Linked DNA regions of Homo sapiens: all the other regions are linked to region 2. The links are contacts of gene promoters, found by promoter capture Hi-C in blood cells and fetal thymus (Javierre and others, 2016). All regions are on one chromosome and are shown on one strand. The core of a region is centred on a gene start or on the middle of the fragment in contact, and the rest is flanking DNA. Distances in the headings are between cores, read along the strand shown.

Evidence for each region. Contacts are between HindIII fragments. The CHiCAGO score rates a contact against its expected background, and 5 or more counts as called.
Region 1: a contact is called between the fragment with the promoter of INTS12 here and the fragment with the promoter of AP1AR in region 2, in 1 of 17 cell types (total CD4 T cells). The highest score is 6.4, in total CD4 T cells.
Region 3: a contact is called between the fragment with the promoter of SNHG8 here and the fragment with the promoter of AP1AR in region 2, in 1 of 17 cell types (non-activated CD4 T cells). The highest score is 8.2, in non-activated CD4 T cells.

Annotation. Positions count from the first base shown.
Region 1 is chr4:105,707,319-105,710,018 of GRCh38, reverse strand. INTS12 (integrator complex subunit 12) reads left to right here and starts at 1,330. Exons shown (of 8, transcript NM_020395.4): 1 at 1,330-1,381. GSTCD (glutathione S-transferase C-terminal domain containing) reads right to left here and starts at 1,235. Exons shown (of 12, transcript NM_001370181.1): 1 at 1,003-1,235. It overlaps LOC124900747 (a long non-coding RNA gene), which reads right to left. Exons shown (of 2, transcript XR_007058214.1): 2 at 1,923-2,118. RefSeq lists an enhancer at 1,006-1,255. The HindIII fragment of the contact is 4,662 bases long and covers 224-2,700 here.
Region 2 is chr4:112,230,500-112,233,199 of GRCh38, reverse strand. AP1AR (adaptor related protein complex 1 associated regulatory protein) reads right to left here and starts at 1,413. Exons shown (of 10, transcript NM_018569.6): 1 at 1,026-1,413. The coding sequence starts at 1,108. It overlaps AP1AR-DT (AP1AR divergent transcript), which reads left to right and starts at 1,050. Exons shown (of 1, transcript NR_186684.1): 1 at 1,050-2,700. RefSeq lists enhancers at 619-668, 693-1,640 and silencers at 879-1,148, 1,309-1,588. The HindIII fragment of the contact is 11,290 bases long and covers 1-2,700 here.
Region 3 is chr4:118,277,426-118,280,125 of GRCh38, reverse strand. SNHG8 (small nucleolar RNA host gene 8) reads right to left here and starts at 1,364. Exons shown (of 3, transcript NR_034011.1): 1 at 1,334-1,364; 2 at 695-737; 3 at 303-502. It overlaps SNORA24 (small nucleolar RNA, H/ACA box 24), which reads right to left and starts at 936; the gene lies at 806-936. PRSS12 (serine protease 12) reads left to right here. Exons shown (of 13, transcript NM_003619.4): 13 at 1-88. RefSeq lists a silencer at 1,537-1,586 and an enhancer at 1,657-1,836. The HindIII fragment of the contact is 13,799 bases long and covers 1-2,700 here.

The DNA.
Region 1 (2,700 bases), core at 81-2,580, 6.5 Mb after region 2:
CCTCTCAGTGGTGTATGCTCCCCATCAGGCAGTTAAAAAAAAAGAAAAAAAAACCCGCATAGCTTAATGTTTATTAAATATGACAGCGAATCACTTAGTTGTGTTATAACAGTTTATTATCATGGATTTAAATGACTATGTTTACATGTTTAAAATTATCACATCACTAGTTCTTGCTAGCTTTTGCATTTTCTCCTGTAAACATTGTTTTTACAGATAAGCTTAGGTAAAATAGAAATACACCACCTTCTTTATCAATAATGTAGCACACAATATATTACTAAAGCTGGCATTTTCTTGATATTCAAGAATTTATGACAAGGAATGGGATCCTGGCATTAAGAATAAAGGGGAAAAAAACAAGTCATCTCATCCCAAAACCAGGTAGAAAGTTGGGATGGGAAGTACGTGTATTAGCAAACGTTTTTGAAACCAAAGCAACTTTCATGCAAATTAAACTTTCTATAGAAGTTAAAAACCCAAGAGATACTGCTGTGATGACAAAACATAAGCAAATGGCCCCAAATGAAGCAAGTCCTTTGGAGTAAATGTTAAGTAGTATTCACATAGAACTGCTTTCTGCAATCAGGAAGGGCTGGAATGGAAAACTCAATGCCAAAGAGAGAAGAGAAGTTAGTGTGACCCAAGAGGTCTTGAAGTAACACTTAACAGCAAATATCAAACCACCCCAACCAACGCCTCCAACTGGAAGCTGCCCCATTTCTCCATCAGCAGAGGAAGACATGAGGGACTGGCTAGGGGGAAACTGGGAAACGCGTACTACCGAGAAGCCCAGAGCCCTCAACCCGCACCTTCAGCAGGAGTGGCCAAAAAGGAGTTTGAGGCGGCCCCAGGGCGGGAGAAAAATCAGGACGATGATACCACGCCCTTGTCCTTCCCACCCTTCCCCCGCATCCTCAGCCCTGCAGACCCCCGAAGAAAAGACCAGTTCTTAGGGGGTCGCGGAGGCTGAGAAGCCGGCGGCCCGAGCGCCCTCTTTACCTGGTCGCAGAGGCGCGGCCAGGCAGGGAGGGTGCGTGAGCGTGTCGGCGACCTGGGCCGCCTGCGCCTTCCCGCCCAGTCCGAGCTGGAATTCCAAGGCTGCCTCTGGGAGCTGCTGCCCGCAGACCACTCGCCTCCACAGACGCCAGGAGAAAAACGACAGCCACCTTATGTGGAAAATACTCGCGCCGGCCGTCATTCATAATCCGGCGGACCGGAAAAAGGGAAGTAACGTCACTTCCTACTGTCGCACTGCCAAACGTTTCCCCCGCCCCTACTGTGGGAACCTTTGTTTTCCTGCTTTCGGAGCCGGCCAGTGCGGGAACCGTTTCCGAAGGGACCACCGGGAACAGACGGATCGGCAGGGCGGGGCGGAACGGTGAGTTATGCTGAGCGACTCTGCTCCTGGCCTCCTGGAGGCTCGAGACCCCCGCGCCAGGAGCGAGGTGGGAGAGTAGCTACGTGGGGTATTAGTTTCCTCGCTCCTCAAGGGGAATCATAATTTACGGGCGGTTGCGTGCCCTAGACTGACTGCTCTCCCCTTTCAGTGAGGACTGTGCTTCCTCCGAGGGAGTTGCGGGCCGGGACATGCGGACCGAGCATATTTCTAGGTCTAGGGACAAGGGACTTGGAATCCTGCCTCGGACTTTGTCGGAGGGTTTTAGTGACTTCTCTACGTAGCTCCCTCATTGTCTCTCATCTTTTGGCTCCCCTGTCAAGGACCATCCCCCATTCTAGGACTTCGATGTGTGATGCTTTGATCAAAGGATTGACATTCCTTTTCTAAGTGTTTGCTGTCAGCTTTCAGCCACTTGATTGGTTTGGAATCGGAGCCTTTTCTCCTGCGATTCCAGGTGTCCCTAAGGTATCAGTGTTATCCAGAACCAAGAACTCAGTGGAGGAATGAAAAAGGCAGCATCTTTAAAATAATGTTTATTGGAAGGGGTTGCAAGAGCTTGCGAAGTCATGAAGAACAAAGTTTTTTAGAGCCATTATGAAATGGCAACGATAATACTGCACTCTATGTGAACAGTTTCTGTTTCCTTCATCTGGGGCACGTGCATATGATCAACTTTGGACTTCTTTTGAGATTGCCAGGTAGGGTGAAAAATGGATCTAGGAGAAAGCACATACTTATATTTATATATGAATGCCCAATTTAGACTGGAGAGATCACAGAAGCCTTATAAGGTGACATTTACGCAAAAAACCTAGTTCGTTCATTCGATAAATATTTTTGAGCCCTTATTAAGTTTCAAGCACTAGGGAAATAACAGTGAACAAAACAAGTTCCTGCTGTCATCAAGTTTACAGACCAGTGGGATTAATGAATTAAGCAAGACAGGCGAAAGATTGTGAGAATTTTACAGATAGGAACATTGTACTACAAGTCCCCAGTCGTGAAAGAGGTGATTGCTTTGCTTTTGCTTTTTTGATGTTTGGAGTTTTTTTTGTGGGGGCAGGGGTGAGTTACTTTTGTGATTTTTGCTGAAGGGACCTTGGAAATGGCTACAATTGTGTAGAAGGAGAGATAAGACCACTATACTTTGATCACTTAATTCCAGTAATTCTATAGCCATTATTTTGTTGTACTTTGCAAAGTGGCAAAGAGATAGGCAAAAAGATAAATATAGACTCTGCCCTTAAAGTACTCAGAGTTTTGTAGGGGACATAACACTTGTGCCAAAAAAAAAAAAA
Region 2 (2,700 bases), core at 164-2,663:
TTTACTGCAATTTATTTATGTTGAACATCTTATTACCCAATAATGTTAGTTAAATGGAACAGATTATGAAAAATTAGCAATCTGTTTCAGAAAGTGCAAAACAGTCTTAGTCCTTACACAAACTGGCTTGGTTCAGATTTTCAATTCTAGGTTTGAATTCCGGAGGGACATTTAATAACAACAAAGCCAACCCCAAAGGAATTTGCTCTAATTTTTTCAATATATATGAAATAAAAAAACACAAAAACGGAATTATGAAATTACTATTCTGTGGATGGTGCATATACAAAACCTAAGCAATATCCCAGGTTTACTCAAGAGAAGTGAAGTTCAGAAGGACTGCAATTTACCTAATGTTACAGGACGTTTGAGTAGCAATCAGGGCAAGGAATTCCTCTCGAAATTTCAAAAACTTAATACGAAAAAATTACACATTGTCCCTGTAGTTATGAGCACCAAGAATCTGAATGCCCATTGGGAACTCTGCAATTCAGCAAGTCTTTGTAGCTACCAGAGTTCATCAGTATCTGGAACCTTATTTTACTCCAGCATCCAAATGACTTCTACTTAAAATCAATCTGAGGCATTAACTCCGGAGCCAGATCCCACCTGCTCTGCCAGGGCTAAAGAGAGGGTCAGATACAGGGATACTAGCTTTGGCGTTAAACCTAAGCTCAGCGCAGGGTGTGTCCAGGTTGCCGTGGAGCCGGTCCTACAGCCCATTAGCGCGAAGCTACCCCTTGTTTCCTGGAGATGATGTCTCCCGTGACTCCTTCCCCGCGTGACAGGGCGCCCTGGCAGGAGGGACACCCCGCCCCCTCTTCTACCTCTTTCCGAGGAGGCCCCAAGACCGGACCCCAGACTGGGCCTCCAAGACGACCACCAGTCTGACGTCTGCTAAGCAGTGAGTGTAGCAGGGCTCTCGACCGCCACCTCCAGCCGCCGGGGGACGGTGAAAGGGATTCCCCGCCGGGGGCCGAAGAGGAGGAGCCACGGGGGCCGGGCCCCTCCCCCAGCGGGCTTACCCTCCGCCGCCGCCTACTCGCTGCAGCCGCCCCGCTTCCTTGCGAAGCAGTCCGAAGCACTGCGTCCAGCAGCAGTTCCCCATCGCATGCCGCCCAGGCGCCGCCGCTCCTCCTCCTCCTCCCGCTCAATGCCCAAACCCAGGCCCGGCAGCTGCATCCGCACGGCACGAGCCGAAATGGGGTTCAAGGACCGAGGGCGGGCCGGCCAGAGCCCGGCGGCGTGAGGGCACGGGGCGACGAAAGACGAGGCGCTAGGGAACAAAGGCAGTGTTTACTCCAGCGGCCGCAGAGCCACCGCTGCGCGAGGGAGGAGCACCGGGCTCAAGGCTCTGGACTCCCTCGCCGTCCGCATGGCCCTTCTCGCCTCAGCTCCTAGCCCAGCGTGAGTGACCGCCTCCAGCTGCCGAAGGAGGCCAGTCCCCGCGAGCCGAGCACCCTGGCCCCGCCCCCAGCGCGCCCAGGCCCCTGCTCGCCGCCAACGCTGCCACACCCCCGGCCTCTCCCGCGCCCCAATTGGGCGCGCTACCTCGGTGCCCCGCCTTCTCTGGCGACCGGCCTGTGCGTCACTTCCGCTCGCTCCTGGTTCAGCCGCCTCTGCCTGCGAGACGGTTCAATTCCTGCGTGCGGACGTTTGTTTTGTTGGACCTTGACCTGACTAGGAAATTTCCCTCTCTCATTGCAGTTTCGGGCATCCTCGTCCGGAGCACGCTGGGCGTGGCATGGCTAAGGCTCAGCCTTCGAACTTTGTATCAAAGGCGTGTGAGGAGCCAGAGTCCCAGGCCGGAAGTCATAAGTGCGAAGGGGCGTTTCTCTGCACGGTGTGCTTAGTTTTTGTTAATACTGCACCATAAGCGGAAAATAGACTCGGGAACTGATTGAGGTTACTTTGAACGCACCAAGATTTTTTTCCGGTCTCTGGTTTGTGTCTTAATTTCCATACTGTTAATGTTTTAGGGAAACGTAATAATGGTGCATTATTGTCCTCGTTTTGTTTGAAAATCAGATCTTCACATAATTTTGGGTTGGGTAGTTGGGGTTCAGAGGAAATTGGCAAGAGGGCTGGGGTTTTTCGGGGACGTCAGCGTTGCCATTCCAAGCATGCTGCCCAGAACTGCTGTAGATGGGAAGAGAAAGCTGCTCTAATGTGTCCGCAGCCCTCTCAAGTGCTACCATATAATTCGCGTCTTGTTTGGCCTCAAGACAGTTGGCCTCACAATAGATATAAGATGTGGTTTAGTAGACACCTCGTCCAGTGGATAGGAGGATGCTCTCATGGACTGGACACATCAAGTTTTTAGCCTGTTTAATTAAACCTAGAAAAATTGTTACATTTTAGAAAGTTTTTATTGATGATAAAATGTTCTCTGAACTCATTTTCTTGCTTCTTTAAATACGTATCTGGTTTCAATCTTAGCACTGCTACTTACTAATGTTTATTTTATTTGGGTTTTAGTTGTTTTGTAATCAGAAGCATAGGATAACATTTGTCCCAATGGTTTGCTTTCAGTGAATGTTGGGATGACCGAATGACTTCCTAGTGAAAGCATTTTCTTTTCTCCTTCCAACCCCTGAAATTAGACAAATGTATTAATGAAATAATCATTAAAATTCAACTATAAATGTTTACAGAAACTGGTACATCTATCCTATGGAATATTTAGTAACAAATAGGAAC
Region 3 (2,700 bases), core at 115-2,614, 6.0 Mb before region 2:
CTTTTACTATGTCTTAAGTGTGACTTTTGAAAGATACAAGTGTTCTGTGCATATTTGTGTAAATAAATACATAATTTTCCACCTTGTATAACTGCCTTAAATTTTTGTATGGTTTAAAAAGAGTCTGCTGTCTCCCTTGGGGGTAGCCTGGTAATTTTTATATTTTACATTTTTCACAAAGGCTGCAATTACCTTAGAACTGTACTCACACTACTTCCACATGAGCGTGTAACACTAAATAGGAGGTATTATGCTATTAACTACCTTTCCGTCTATTAATCACTCAGTCAAGGAACAATGAGTAGCCACATGAATTAAGCATTTTATTTAATTATCACGGACCACCTTAAATATTACTTTACAAAATTCAGGCCTATATTTAAAATAGGTGTCCTGATAACTTCCAGGATATTATTCGGAACACCCGTTTCCCCAACTACGATAAGTCCATTGCCGGATGCTGAATAAACTTCGCCCATTACCACTTGGATTTCTTGATAGTCTGCAAGAGAAAAAAAGCATTATAAAACTCCGAGCTGTGTACTTACCTCACTGTTTTGAGATCTTATCAGCTAATTCAGTTGGTTGTTAACTCAAACTACAAAAGCCAGCAAAACGGGCCAACTTTAGCTTTCCAACGTCCTGCCGCTAAGGCGTTTCAGATTAACTCAGAAATATCAAAAAAGAAATGTACCTTATGTTTCCATCATCCATCGTAATGTGTTCAGCTCAGCTTCCTAGAAACATTGAACAACGGTTTAGAAATTTTGCCCAATAACCCGGCACCCTCTAGGTTTTTAACAGTGAATGTTACTTGTGCAAGTCAGAATCTGATACCAATTAAATGGTGACAGCTTTGCCAATAAACAAGGATATGCTCTTCCATGGCTAGGAAGGGAGACTGCCACGGCTGACAGGTCCCAAAGATACATGGAGATTCACAATCCAGAATTAACCAGCAACCAAACTGCTACAGGTTATTACTCACCATCTGGCTCAAACTGACGGTTCTCGGGGTGCTAGGGCACAAGAGCGACAGAGTAGACTCAAGATGGCCACATGACACAGACGGCTGAACAGGCTTCACCGGAGTCCCCGAGTGCACGGAACCTTTCCCCGAGGGCCCACGGCCCACGCACGCCGGGGTTCAGGGTCCAGGGCTGCACGTGGACGCCCGGCGACCTAATGAGCACTCAAGTCCGCGCATGCTTGTAAACTTAAGGGTTTCCAAAGCCGCCCCCGACCTACCAATATCCTGACTGCGCTGCCTTTTAGGTAAGGCAGTAAGTTTCGGCCCAATTATCATTTTAACTTACGAAAGACAACTACGTACTTTCACCTAATCCCGACGCTTCCCGAATGTGAAAGGCCGAGGCCTTCGGCACACGCTCTCTTATAGAACTGATGACGCTATTCCGGGGGAAGCGCCGCGAGGGGCGGAGCCTATGCTGTTTCACTCCCCGCCCCGCCTAGCCCCGCCGCGGCTCCACCTGTTCCGTCTACCACCCCCTTCGCGGCTCCTTTCCCCCCTCCCCCGCACATGGTCCACGTCTGAGCGGGTCACCTGGCTCCGGATCCAGACGCATGCGCACATACGAGAGCCAAAAGGTTCTCGCATAGCGAAAGATCCTGACGCTTACCGGTGTAGGTCACGAAAGCGAGGGGGATTTTTTTGGTATTTCCTGTTTAGGATACTTATTTTAGACAATATTAGAAAAAGGGGCCGAACGCGGTGGCTCACGTCTGTGATCCCAGCACTTTGGGAGGCCGAGGCGGGCGGATCACTTGAGGTTAGGAGTTGGAGACCAGCCTGGCTAACATGGCGAAACCCCGTTTCTACTAAAAATACAAAAATTAGCCTGGTGTGGTGGTGAACGCCTGTAGTCCCGGCTACTCGGGAGGTTGAGGTGGGAGAATCTCTTGAGCCCGAGAGGCGGAAGTTATGGTGAGCTGAGATCGCTGGTTAGCATTTTACAAATTACCTAATCACTACTCAAAAACAAGAAAAGTCTGAGAAACTATTATGCCAGAGAAAATGATGCATAATGATTAAATGTAATGTGGTATCCTGGCTGGGATCTCCAGCAGAAAAAGGACATTAATGGAAAACTAGCGAATCTGAACAAAGTGTGGAATTTAGGTAATAGTGCCAATACCGATTTCTTTATTGTGACAGATATACCATGGTATTGTAAGATATTAATGGTAGGGGAAATTGGATGAAGGGGGTGTGGGGACTCCATTTTTGCAAATTTTCTGTAAATGTAAAACAAAGTTTAACTTAAAAAAGCAATTATAACCTTACAGTCTATTATACTTTCATTTTAAGACAAAGTAGTGATTTAGTAGTGGTTTCTATCTACTTTAGTGTGAAATTTGTGGCTGAGATGACAGTATTTCTAAGTTTGACTTGAGATCAAACCCAATGAATTTAGCTGCATTCAAACCAAGGCTTTGAGCCTTTGGATATTCAGGAGAGACAATGTGGTAACAAATAAAAGAATTAAAAATTGGTTGGTAAATGAAGATTGGCTTAAGGATTTTATTTTATGTATTTATTTATTTAGAAACATTCTTGCTCTGTTGCCTAGCCTGGAGTGCAGTGGCATGATCTTGGCTCAGTGCAACCTCCACCTCCTAGGCTCAAGCGAGCCTCCTGCTAGGCGTGTGCCACCACTTGGCTACTTTTTTTTTAAGGTT